Regions from separate parts of the Homo sapiens genome. Here region 1 is linked to region 2. The links are contacts of gene promoters, found by promoter capture Hi-C in blood cells and fetal thymus (Javierre and others, 2016). All regions are on one chromosome and are shown on one strand. Each heading gives the region's core, a stretch centred on a gene start or on the middle of the fragment in contact. The rest is flanking DNA. Distances are from core to core; before and after follow the strand shown. Region 1 holds the start of AZIN2 (antizyme inhibitor 2). Region 2 holds the start of LAPTM5 (lysosomal protein transmembrane 5).

Evidence for each region. Contacts are between HindIII fragments. The CHiCAGO score rates a contact against its expected background, and 5 or more counts as called.
Region 1: a contact is called between the fragment with the promoter of AZIN2 here and the fragment with the promoter of LAPTM5 in region 2, in 1 of 17 cell types (non-activated CD4 T cells). The highest score is 6.7, in non-activated CD4 T cells.

Annotation. Positions count from the first base shown.
Region 1 is chr1:33,077,864-33,082,656 of GRCh38, forward strand. AZIN2 (antizyme inhibitor 2) reads left to right here and starts at 3,290. Exons shown (of 12, transcript NM_052998.4): 1 at 3,290-3,431; 2 at 3,525-3,645; 3 at 3,738-3,949; 4 at 4,315-4,491. The coding sequence starts at 4,387. It overlaps LOC105378635 (a long non-coding RNA gene), which reads right to left and starts at 3,133. Exons shown (of 3, transcript XR_947163.2): 1 at 3,058-3,133; 2 at 2,336-2,464; 3 at 21-423. RefSeq lists a silencer at 3,252-3,511. The HindIII fragment of the contact is 16,354 bases long and covers 2,693-4,793 here.
Region 2 is chr1:30,756,039-30,760,252 of GRCh38, forward strand. It overlaps LAPTM5 (lysosomal protein transmembrane 5), which reads right to left and starts at 1,736. Exons shown (of 8, transcript NM_006762.3): 1 at 1,621-1,736. The coding sequence starts at 1,707. RefSeq lists enhancers at 543-1,339, 1,468-1,747, 2,816-2,885. The HindIII fragment of the contact is 6,145 bases long and covers 1-2,449 here.

The sequences.
Region 1 (4,793 bases), core at 2,040-4,539, 2.3 Mb after region 2:
TCAAACTCTCCAGTTCTATGTACTAATAAGGCATTTTTATTATTGCAACGTTTGTGACTATGATTACTCTTGGTTTATGAAGAATAGATTGACTTGGCTGACATGATTCTGACTAGAGATCAGAAGATTTTTATCCTGCTTCTGCTCCATGTTCTTGAGGGCTCAGCACAGCAATCATAGATGCTACAACAGCAGTAGCATGAGAGACAAGCAGAAGAGAAGCTACCAGCTTTTGGGTTGGATGCTGGCAGGATGAGTGTGTAACTTTTGTTTAGCTGGGGCCAGAATTCTCAGCCACTGATTGGCAGTCAAGCATAAAGGTTAAAGGTCAGAATTGGCTTGTATTTAAATCTAGTCTTCACCTTTACTTGCTGTGTGATCCTGGGCAAGTTATTGAACTTTTCTGAGCTTTATATTCCTCATCTGTAAAATGAGAACAAATGTGGCTCCTGTGACATAGGGTTGTCATGGAGTTTCAATGACATCACATAACAAGCAGGGAAAAAAGAAAAAGCCACAGCCTATCTGTACTCAGTCCAGGGTGCAGATTTTTCTGCTCTGATTACTTACTCTTGATAGATTCCAAATGGACAGACTGGATTCTGGCTCGTTTCTTCTTACCTCTATTGATTCATTCAGTAAACATATTGAATGTACCTATTATGTGCCTACTAGGTGATGAAAAAAGCTGGTAGGGCAGACCCAGACCATGACATCCAAATGCAGACAGCTCAGAGAATGATTTAACTAAAAGTAGAGCCAAAGTTATTCGGGTGCTCCTCTCCTCTCAGTCTAATTTTTTTTTTTTTTTTGAGACAGAGTCTTGCTCTGTCACCCAGGCTGGAGTGCGGTGGCGTGATCTCGGCTCACCGCAAGCTCCGCCTCCCGGGTTCACGCCATTCTCCTGCCCCAGCCTCCCGAGTAGCTGGGACTACAGGCTCCCGCCACCGCACCTGGCTAATTTTTTTTTGTATTTTTAGTAGAGATGGGGTTTCACCATGTTAGCCAGGATGGTCTCGATCTCCTGACCTCGTGATCCTCCCATCTCAGCTAGGATTACAGGCGTGAGCCACCGCGCCTGGCCCTCTCAGTATAATCTTTTAGGGTTTCTGCCATGGCCGTCCTAATCTACCCTTCCTGATTGGTAGATACTTGTTCTCATACTATGTTGCAAATGACTATTAATCTCAAAGAAAGGTCCTGCAAATGACTGTCCTATAAAGCTGCCTCCTGAAATACTACTCCTATGCATAGAAAACAAGATGGTTCCAGGCAGAAGGGCCCAGAGAAATCAGTCTGAAACCTCTCAGTTCACAGGGGGAAATCAAGCCAGGCAGAAGTGACCCAGATCCAGTTAGGGTGACTCAGCCAAGGACACCCAGCAATTATATGTCCCAGCTGGGTAGGGAGCAGAAAATGGCTCTCCTGCTTCTGGTCCCTGCCCCACACCATTTGTGTACTGAGCATGTTCTAACTAGGTTGTGCAGTGTCCTAGGGAGATACTAAGGCGGGACAAGAAGTGCCTCTGATTTAAAAAAAAGTCTACAGCCCACTGGGCATGGTGGCTCACGCCTGTAATCCCAGCACTTTGGGAGGCTGAGGCAGGCAGATTGCTAGAGCTCAGGAGTTTGAGACTAGCCTGGGCAACAGGGCGAAACCCTGTCTCTACAAAAAATACAAAAATCAGCAAGGTATGGTAGCATGCACTTGTAGTCCCAGCTACTTGGGAGGCCGAGGTTGGAGGATCACTTGAGCCTGGGAGGTGGAGGTTGCAGTGAGCTGAGGTCATGTCACTGCACTCCAGCCTGGGTGACAGAGCCAGATCTTGTCTCAAAAGAGAAAAAAAAAAAAAAAAGCCCACAGCCTAGCAGGGGACATGAAGACATATGGTAGACCAAAAGCCCTTTGGCTTCATTGATTTGAAATGCTGCCTCCATTGTGTACCAATCTCCAATGTATATGGGACTGTTGTAGACCCTGTTCTGTTTTACCACTGTCTCTTCCTGCTCCAGCACCATACTGTTTTAAAGACTGTAGTTTTGGCCGGGCGCGGTGGCTCACGCCTATAATCCCAGCACTTTGGGAGGCCGGGGCGGGTAGATTACTGGAGGTCAGGAGTTCAAGACCACCCTGGCCAATATGGTGAAACCCCATCTCTACTGAAAATACAAAATTAGCTGTGCGTGGTGGCATGCGCCTATAATCCCAGTTACTTGGGAGGCTGAGGCAGGAGAATCGCTTGAACCCAGGAGGCAGAGGTTGCAGTGAGCTGAGATCGTGCCATTGCACTCCAGCCTGGGCAAAAAGAGTGTCTTGACTGTTCTTGTACACTTACTTTTCCAGATGAACTTTTATATCAGCTTTTGAGTAACACAGCTATTGAATCTTCCTCAGCATTCTTGTCTATGCCAGGCACCAGGCTCTTGAGCAGGGTATTCAGTCCTTGCCCTTGGGAAATCACAAACTAGATGCAAAGTGTAACCAAACAAGAAGTGTAAAATAACAACAGGAATCTCACGCTATGGGTAACAAGAACCAAATGAGTGAGGGGTCCAGACAGACTAAATGCTGTGTTCCTTGGGGCCAGGCAAGTCATGGAAGGTTCAACAGAGGTGACATTATACAGGACTTTGATGGGTGAGCAGCAGCTTTCGGTATAGAAGAAATGCTTTGAGTTGAGGAAGTCCGGGAAAGCTTCTTGGAGAAGGAGACACATTTCTATTGAGAGATGAGTAAGAGTTTGCCGGGTTCACAGGATGGGATAAAGGGAGGGATTGCCCTGAACTGGGAAAGTCACAAAAAGGTTCTCTGAAGACATTTTAGATGCGTTTTGAGTTGGAGTCGGGGAAGATGCCTGGAAGAGGCAATTAAATAAAAAGAATTTTATTACAAAAGTAATACAAGGACATGTCATTGGAACCGGGTTTCGAGAGATGAGTGAGCAGTTCCTGACGCAGACAAGAGCTGGACCACGAAGTAAGTTGAGGCAGAGGCAGAAAAGGCTTCCTGGTCCTGCCCACTCTCTAAGACCTAAGATGCAGGGTCTAAGTGTCTCACCTGCGTGGCGGCGGCCCTGTAGTTCTGACTTCCAGCGTGAGGTAGCCACCGCCAGGCCTCCGGGGGAGAAGACTACAGTAAGGGCGAGCAGAGCTGAATGCTTTATGTCGGAATCGACCAATGGGATGGCGGCACCCGGTTGCCAGGGCTACGGCCAAGCGGAGGTAGGGCCTCGGCACTATGGGCGGGGCCTGGGCGGGGTTATATAAGCCAGCGGCGGGCGGAAGGCGGGGCGTGGGGGTCTGTGGCTGCTGGGCTGGCGGGGCGCAGGCCGCGGGACCCGAGCCCGGGGAAGCGAGAGAGCGGAGGCGCCGAGGATCCGATTCACTCCCTGGGGAGACCTATGGGCCGAAGCCGTGTAAATGCGTTTTAAGGCGAGTGCGGAAAGTGGCCTGGGGAGCCTCGGGGAGCGGACGCCCTCCGCCCTGGTGCTGACCTGCCTCCCTGCCCCTTCTGCCTCCTGTCAGCAGAGGCCTCGGCTCCGCAACTGCCACTCCTCCTCGGGGTGTTGCACAAGTTTCGAGGTCACCGGCGACCCCCCCTAGCAGCGCGCCTGGCTCTGGCCCCCGCGAAGGAGGACGGAGTTTGGTAAGGGGCCCTGGGGGTTGGGGGGACCTCAGCCCTGCACTCTGTAGGAGTCACTCGGACAGAAAAAACCTCGGCCTTCCGTTCTCTCCCAGGAGCTTGCGGCCCCCACCCACCGCGTGGCGTCCCCAGGCACGCCTAGAATTCTAGCACCTCAGGATCAGTCCAGCCCCCATTTACAATTGGGGAAACTGCGGCTCCGAAAGGGTCAGAGGGTACCCGAGGTCAAGCAGTAGAGAGCGGACTCGAACTTAAGCTCTTGCTCTTAGGCTGAGACGCCTTGATGTGGCCACCGGCTACCCTCTAGGTGGGCGTGGTCAAGACTGGGGGCGCCCTGGAAACTTCCCCACCCAAGTTTCTCAGATTTTCTGTTCCATCTCTCTCTCACTCTTTCCTGAAATCCAGAATTTCAGAACTGGGAAGGCTCTCCAAAACAATTCATCCATTTTACAGAGGGAGCAACTGACTCGGAGAGGCAGTGACATTTGGGCATACGGTGCCTTGTCTCCGTCTGAAATCCGGGATTCTTGACTTTCTCCACCCTTGCCCAGTGAACCCCGGGCTTGTGCTGGGGGCGGGTTGTGACGGGATTGGGATCCCTGGCCTCGGGAGGCGAGTGGGGCAGCAGAGCCGGCCCCCCAGCGGTTCCCTTCATCTCCCCTCGCCCCGCAGTGTGTTGCATACTTTCTAAGGCGGCGGCTGCAGCAGCGGCTCCATCCAGCCCGTCAGCTCCTCCTGCAAGGCATGGCTGGCTACCTGAGTGAATCGGACTTTGTGATGGTGGAGGAGGGCTTCAGTACCCGAGACCTGCTGAAGGAACTCACTCTGGGGGCCTCACAGGCCACCACGGTGAGGGGCTGGGAATGGGGGTGGGTCCCCGGTCCCCTGTACAGATCAGCTGCCTCCTCAGGAAGGGTCCCTAGGGCCCTCATCTTATCCTTTCGCTTATTTGGTACGCAATCCTTGCTATTTGCAAGAGAGGGGCTCAATTTATCCCCAATTCTTTGTCCTTGCCCCCAAACCTGCCCCTCCTATGTTGCCTTTTTACCCAGCCCTCCAAGGTCAGAAACGGGGGATTCCTTTCCTGCTGCCCCCTCTCCCTCACCGCCCACATCTAGGCATTACCAAGCTCTGTGAATTCTGCCTCCTTA
Region 2 (4,214 bases), core at 486-2,985:
CTGACTTTATAAAAGGGAAACTGAGGCCCAGAGAGAGGCTTGTCTGAGCCCATACAGCCAGTTAGTGGCAGGGCTGGGGTGAGGACCCAGGGACTTGCTACCTGTGAGGCGCCCCTGCATGCCACACTGTCCTTCTAAGAATGTGCATAGTCTCAGAGCTTGAAGGCCTAAAATACAGGGTACAGGGACACTCAAAGAGTGATTTGCTTCTCTCAGCTCTTGCATTGGCAGGAGCTCGGAAGGACAACCTCTGAGTTCCTCCTCCCAAAACTAGAGTCCTTGAATCTGACAACTTGACTCCAAGGATGCTGACAGCAGGTGCCATGTCTGATGCACAACGAATAATAAAGCACTCACCTGTGCGTCAGGCGTGGTTCTGCATGCTTTGTATGTATCAACTCCCTGAGCCTCACAACAAACCCTATCAGATGGGTATGATAATTCACATCCCCATTTTTTTAAATGAGAAAACTGAGGCTCAGAGAGGTTAAGTAAATTGCCCAAGGCTGCAGAGCTGGGAAGCAGGGAAGCCAGGATTTGCATGCAGGAGTCTGCATCCAGAGGCCGTGGGCTAACCACTGAACAGCATCGCCCCCCTGAAGGCTGGGCTCTTGCCACAGCTCTGCCTGCCCTGCCTGTGACAGGAAGCAGACGCAGGCAGGTCTGAGTTTGCAGCAACCCACCGCAGCATGTGGATCTAGGCTAATTTTGAGGAAGCCCTTCCAGACTCATGAGAAAACTGTTAACCACAGGCCCTGAGTCACCCCAGGAGGAAGTCGCTTGGGTCTAGGGGAGATGAGTGTGGCCAGGAGTTTGGGAGTAGGGTGGGTCTAGGCAGGACAGTACAAGGACACTGACCCTCAGCCACCCCAGGCAGAGGGGCAGCCTTGGCCCCCGGGCACTGTGACTTGCCCAAGACCACACTGTGAGTCACCAGGAAAGGAGGAACCAGTGACAGCCGTGACTTCACAAGTTGCCCAACAAGAGCTTGGGCCGGACAAGTTACCCTAATGATTAGCACAGGTCTCAAGTTCTCTTTGGTGGGCAGAAGGCCGTGGTTTGACTGAGCTGGAAGCTGAGAGGACACGGCCCCTGCCTCCCCACTGGAGGCACAAAGGGGAGATCCCCACTTCTCATCCCCTCGAGTGGCCCAGGCTCCCTCCAGGCCCCAGGGGAAGAATCGGGGCTGTGTCTGCGGCCGACCTCACATCCCGGTCAAACAATCCCAGCCCACGTTCCTCCCAAGATCCCTGCCTTCCAAAGCACTTTCACATCTGCTGTTGGCTTTGCACACAAATAACCTTCCGGCTGCTGCTGTGCCCCATCTCACAGAGGCAGAAACGGAGCCAGCCTCGGAGTGAACGTCAGTTACATTTGCCTGGAAAGTGGATTCCAGCTCCCTTACTCCTCACTCTTGCGGCATCTCCCCAGGGTACCCCCAGCCATTTGACAGAGAAGGAAACTGAGGCCCAGAGCAGGACAGGGATTTGCCCAGGGTCCCCCAGAGAGGTGGAGAGCAGGAGTTCTTTCATTTGTGGGGCTCCGTAGATGACGGGTCACCGCAGACATTCACACTCACACAAGCACGCACGCACACACACCCGGGGCCCGCACACTCACCACATGGTAGATGGCCAGGGCGGTGGTTGCGATGCGGACATTGAAGCAGCAGCAGGTCTGGCGGACAGTGGACAAGCGGGGGTCCATGGTGCTGCCGTCCCCTCCTCTGAGACACTGAAGGGGAAAGAGCCTGGTGCCTGGAGCAGGGCAGAGAAGGGGAAGCTGCTGGCTGCCCTCCTCACTTCCTTCCTGCCCCTTAGACAGGCAGGGACAAGGTCGTCACAGCTGGGGCGGGGCAGCTGGGGAGGGGGAGTGGGGACAGGGCAGCAGCCTGCCTCAGAGCACCCCACTGCCCTCTGCCATTCCCAGGAGGGGGTTCCAGAGAGGACAGACCCTAACACGGTCATCATGCCCTTCTCTGCACCAGGGCCAGGGTTCCACCGTTTCACACAGCTTGCTTACTAGAAGAACACTACCAACTTTGGAAGCCAGGACTGTTACCAAGCCCATTTCCAGATGAGGAAACAGCTGTCCAGAGAGGTCAAGGCACTTGCCCCAAATCACACAGTAGTTAGCACTGGTGGCAGAATTCAAACCCAGATCTGTCTGGCTGCAAAAATAGCTATTGTCTAGGAGGCATTTCCTGCCTCTTCCAGGCATGCTCCTGGATTCACTCCTTTCATCCTCACCTCAATCCTTTGAGAGAGGTACTATTATGATCCCCATTTTACAGATGAAGAAACTGAGGCACAGAGAGGGGGAATGATTCGTGCAAGGTCACACAGCTAGTCAATGAAGGTGCAAGGATTTTAACTGAGGCTGACTGGTGCTAGAAGCCTCCCTGGAGCTGGTGTTCTCTCCCACTTCCTCACCCTGAGCCGCAGGGAGAAGCTTGTTCTTCCTAAGCTACGAAGAGGCGTGCAGGGCTCCAGACAAGGACGGAAGAATAACCAGGAAGCAAACCCATCAACTGTGCGCCAGGCCCTGGGCTAGGCTTCTCTTCTAGGTGGGTCAATAACTCTTCACAGCAATCTGTGAGACCCGAACCTCACTTTCAGGGCCTCAAGACCCAATCCCCATACTCACACAAAATCAGGGATTGCTTTTCCCCCTTGATCTTGCAAAAAGTTGGAATTAATAAGCCACAACTCTTAGGCAAGCTACCCTGGAATCTCTACTCCCTCCTCAGATGATAAATTATCCATATTGCAATAAAGAAAGGGAATAGGAAGTACATGCAACATTTCTGGAAGAAGCCCTGCTTCATTCCACAGCTGAGCCCCTTTGCAATGCCAAGCTTCTAGTGCAGAGCAGACAGGAACTGCCATGAAGCCCTGCCCTCCCAGGAGATCATGGAGTTAGGATTGGACACTGCTGCAGCCCATCATTTCTGCCCCAGGAGAGGTTATAGAAAGTCCCTAAGCTCCTCCCACTTGGCAGGAGTTGCTCTGTTAGACCCACAAAACTTGATTGGTGGACTTGATCAATCCATTCTCCATGTGCCAATGAGACCAAGGGGACTCTGCAAGCTTTGGGCTCCTGGGAGGCCTGGCCTATCCCTTCCCAACTTCATTTTCAAGGCTGTTCCTGTTCCTTCATAAGCCTTGCTGAGGCCTGACATCATAGAAAGGTGACACAGTGCAGTGGTTAAGAACTTTGGCTCCACAGGCCCATGGCCTGGGATCTTCTGGCTGGGTAGGCAGAAAACCAAGAGAAGTCCTCCTTTGTCTAAGAGTAGCAAGACCAGAGGAACTGGAGATCAGGAAACCAGGGGCCAGGAGGGCCCTGAGGCCATGCTGGGGAGTCTGCATTTGATTGTGCACAGAAGCCATTTGACGATTTCCTACCATAATAAATGATAGCCATTCATAACATTGTGATTTGGTGAAACCAGGACAGGTGCAAAGCCAACTCCCAAAGAGAGGGATGAAACACACTGACAGCATGTGGAATAATTGTACATGGTCTATGGGTAAACATTTCTCATTTTTTATGGTGATAAATTCATTTTAATGTGCATTATAAAAATATACATAACTAGTCCATGAATCCTGTGATTTTCCATTTATAGGAGTAATATAAAGTCTCATTTTAAAAGAAATGCATTTAAATAAAAAAGGCAGTAAGTCAATTTAAAGAACATATTAAGGAAGCCACAGCCTAGGAGGACGCAGATGTGGCAGACAGCCCTGGAGGTGGAGTAGGTGGCATCCGTTTGGGAATCCTGGGGCATGGGGAATCCCAGCTCCCCACTTAGTAGCTGTGTGGTGTCAGACAAGGCACTTGATCTCTCTGAGCTGTTGTTTTCACCTCTGCAAAACGGCGGGGCGGTTGGGGGGAACAGAAATTTGCCTGGCAGGGCTGCGGTGAAGGTGAAATGAGGTCACGTGAATGCATCTGTTTGTTTTCTCCCTTCCAGCCCGTCCCTGCTCCCCGATCTCACCCGTACTCAGGCTGCTAGGAGGAGGCAGAGCTGGGATTGAACCCCTGATCTGTCTGATTCTGAGTCCCCTCGGGCACTACCTCCCTCGCAGAAGCAGGAGTTCTGATGCAGTCATTTGTCTCTCACCGGGTCACCAGGCTCCAGCACACACTGGCCCCTTGGCAGGCACCTCAGTCACTCCCTGTGGAGTACAAGCCTGAATCACTTTATT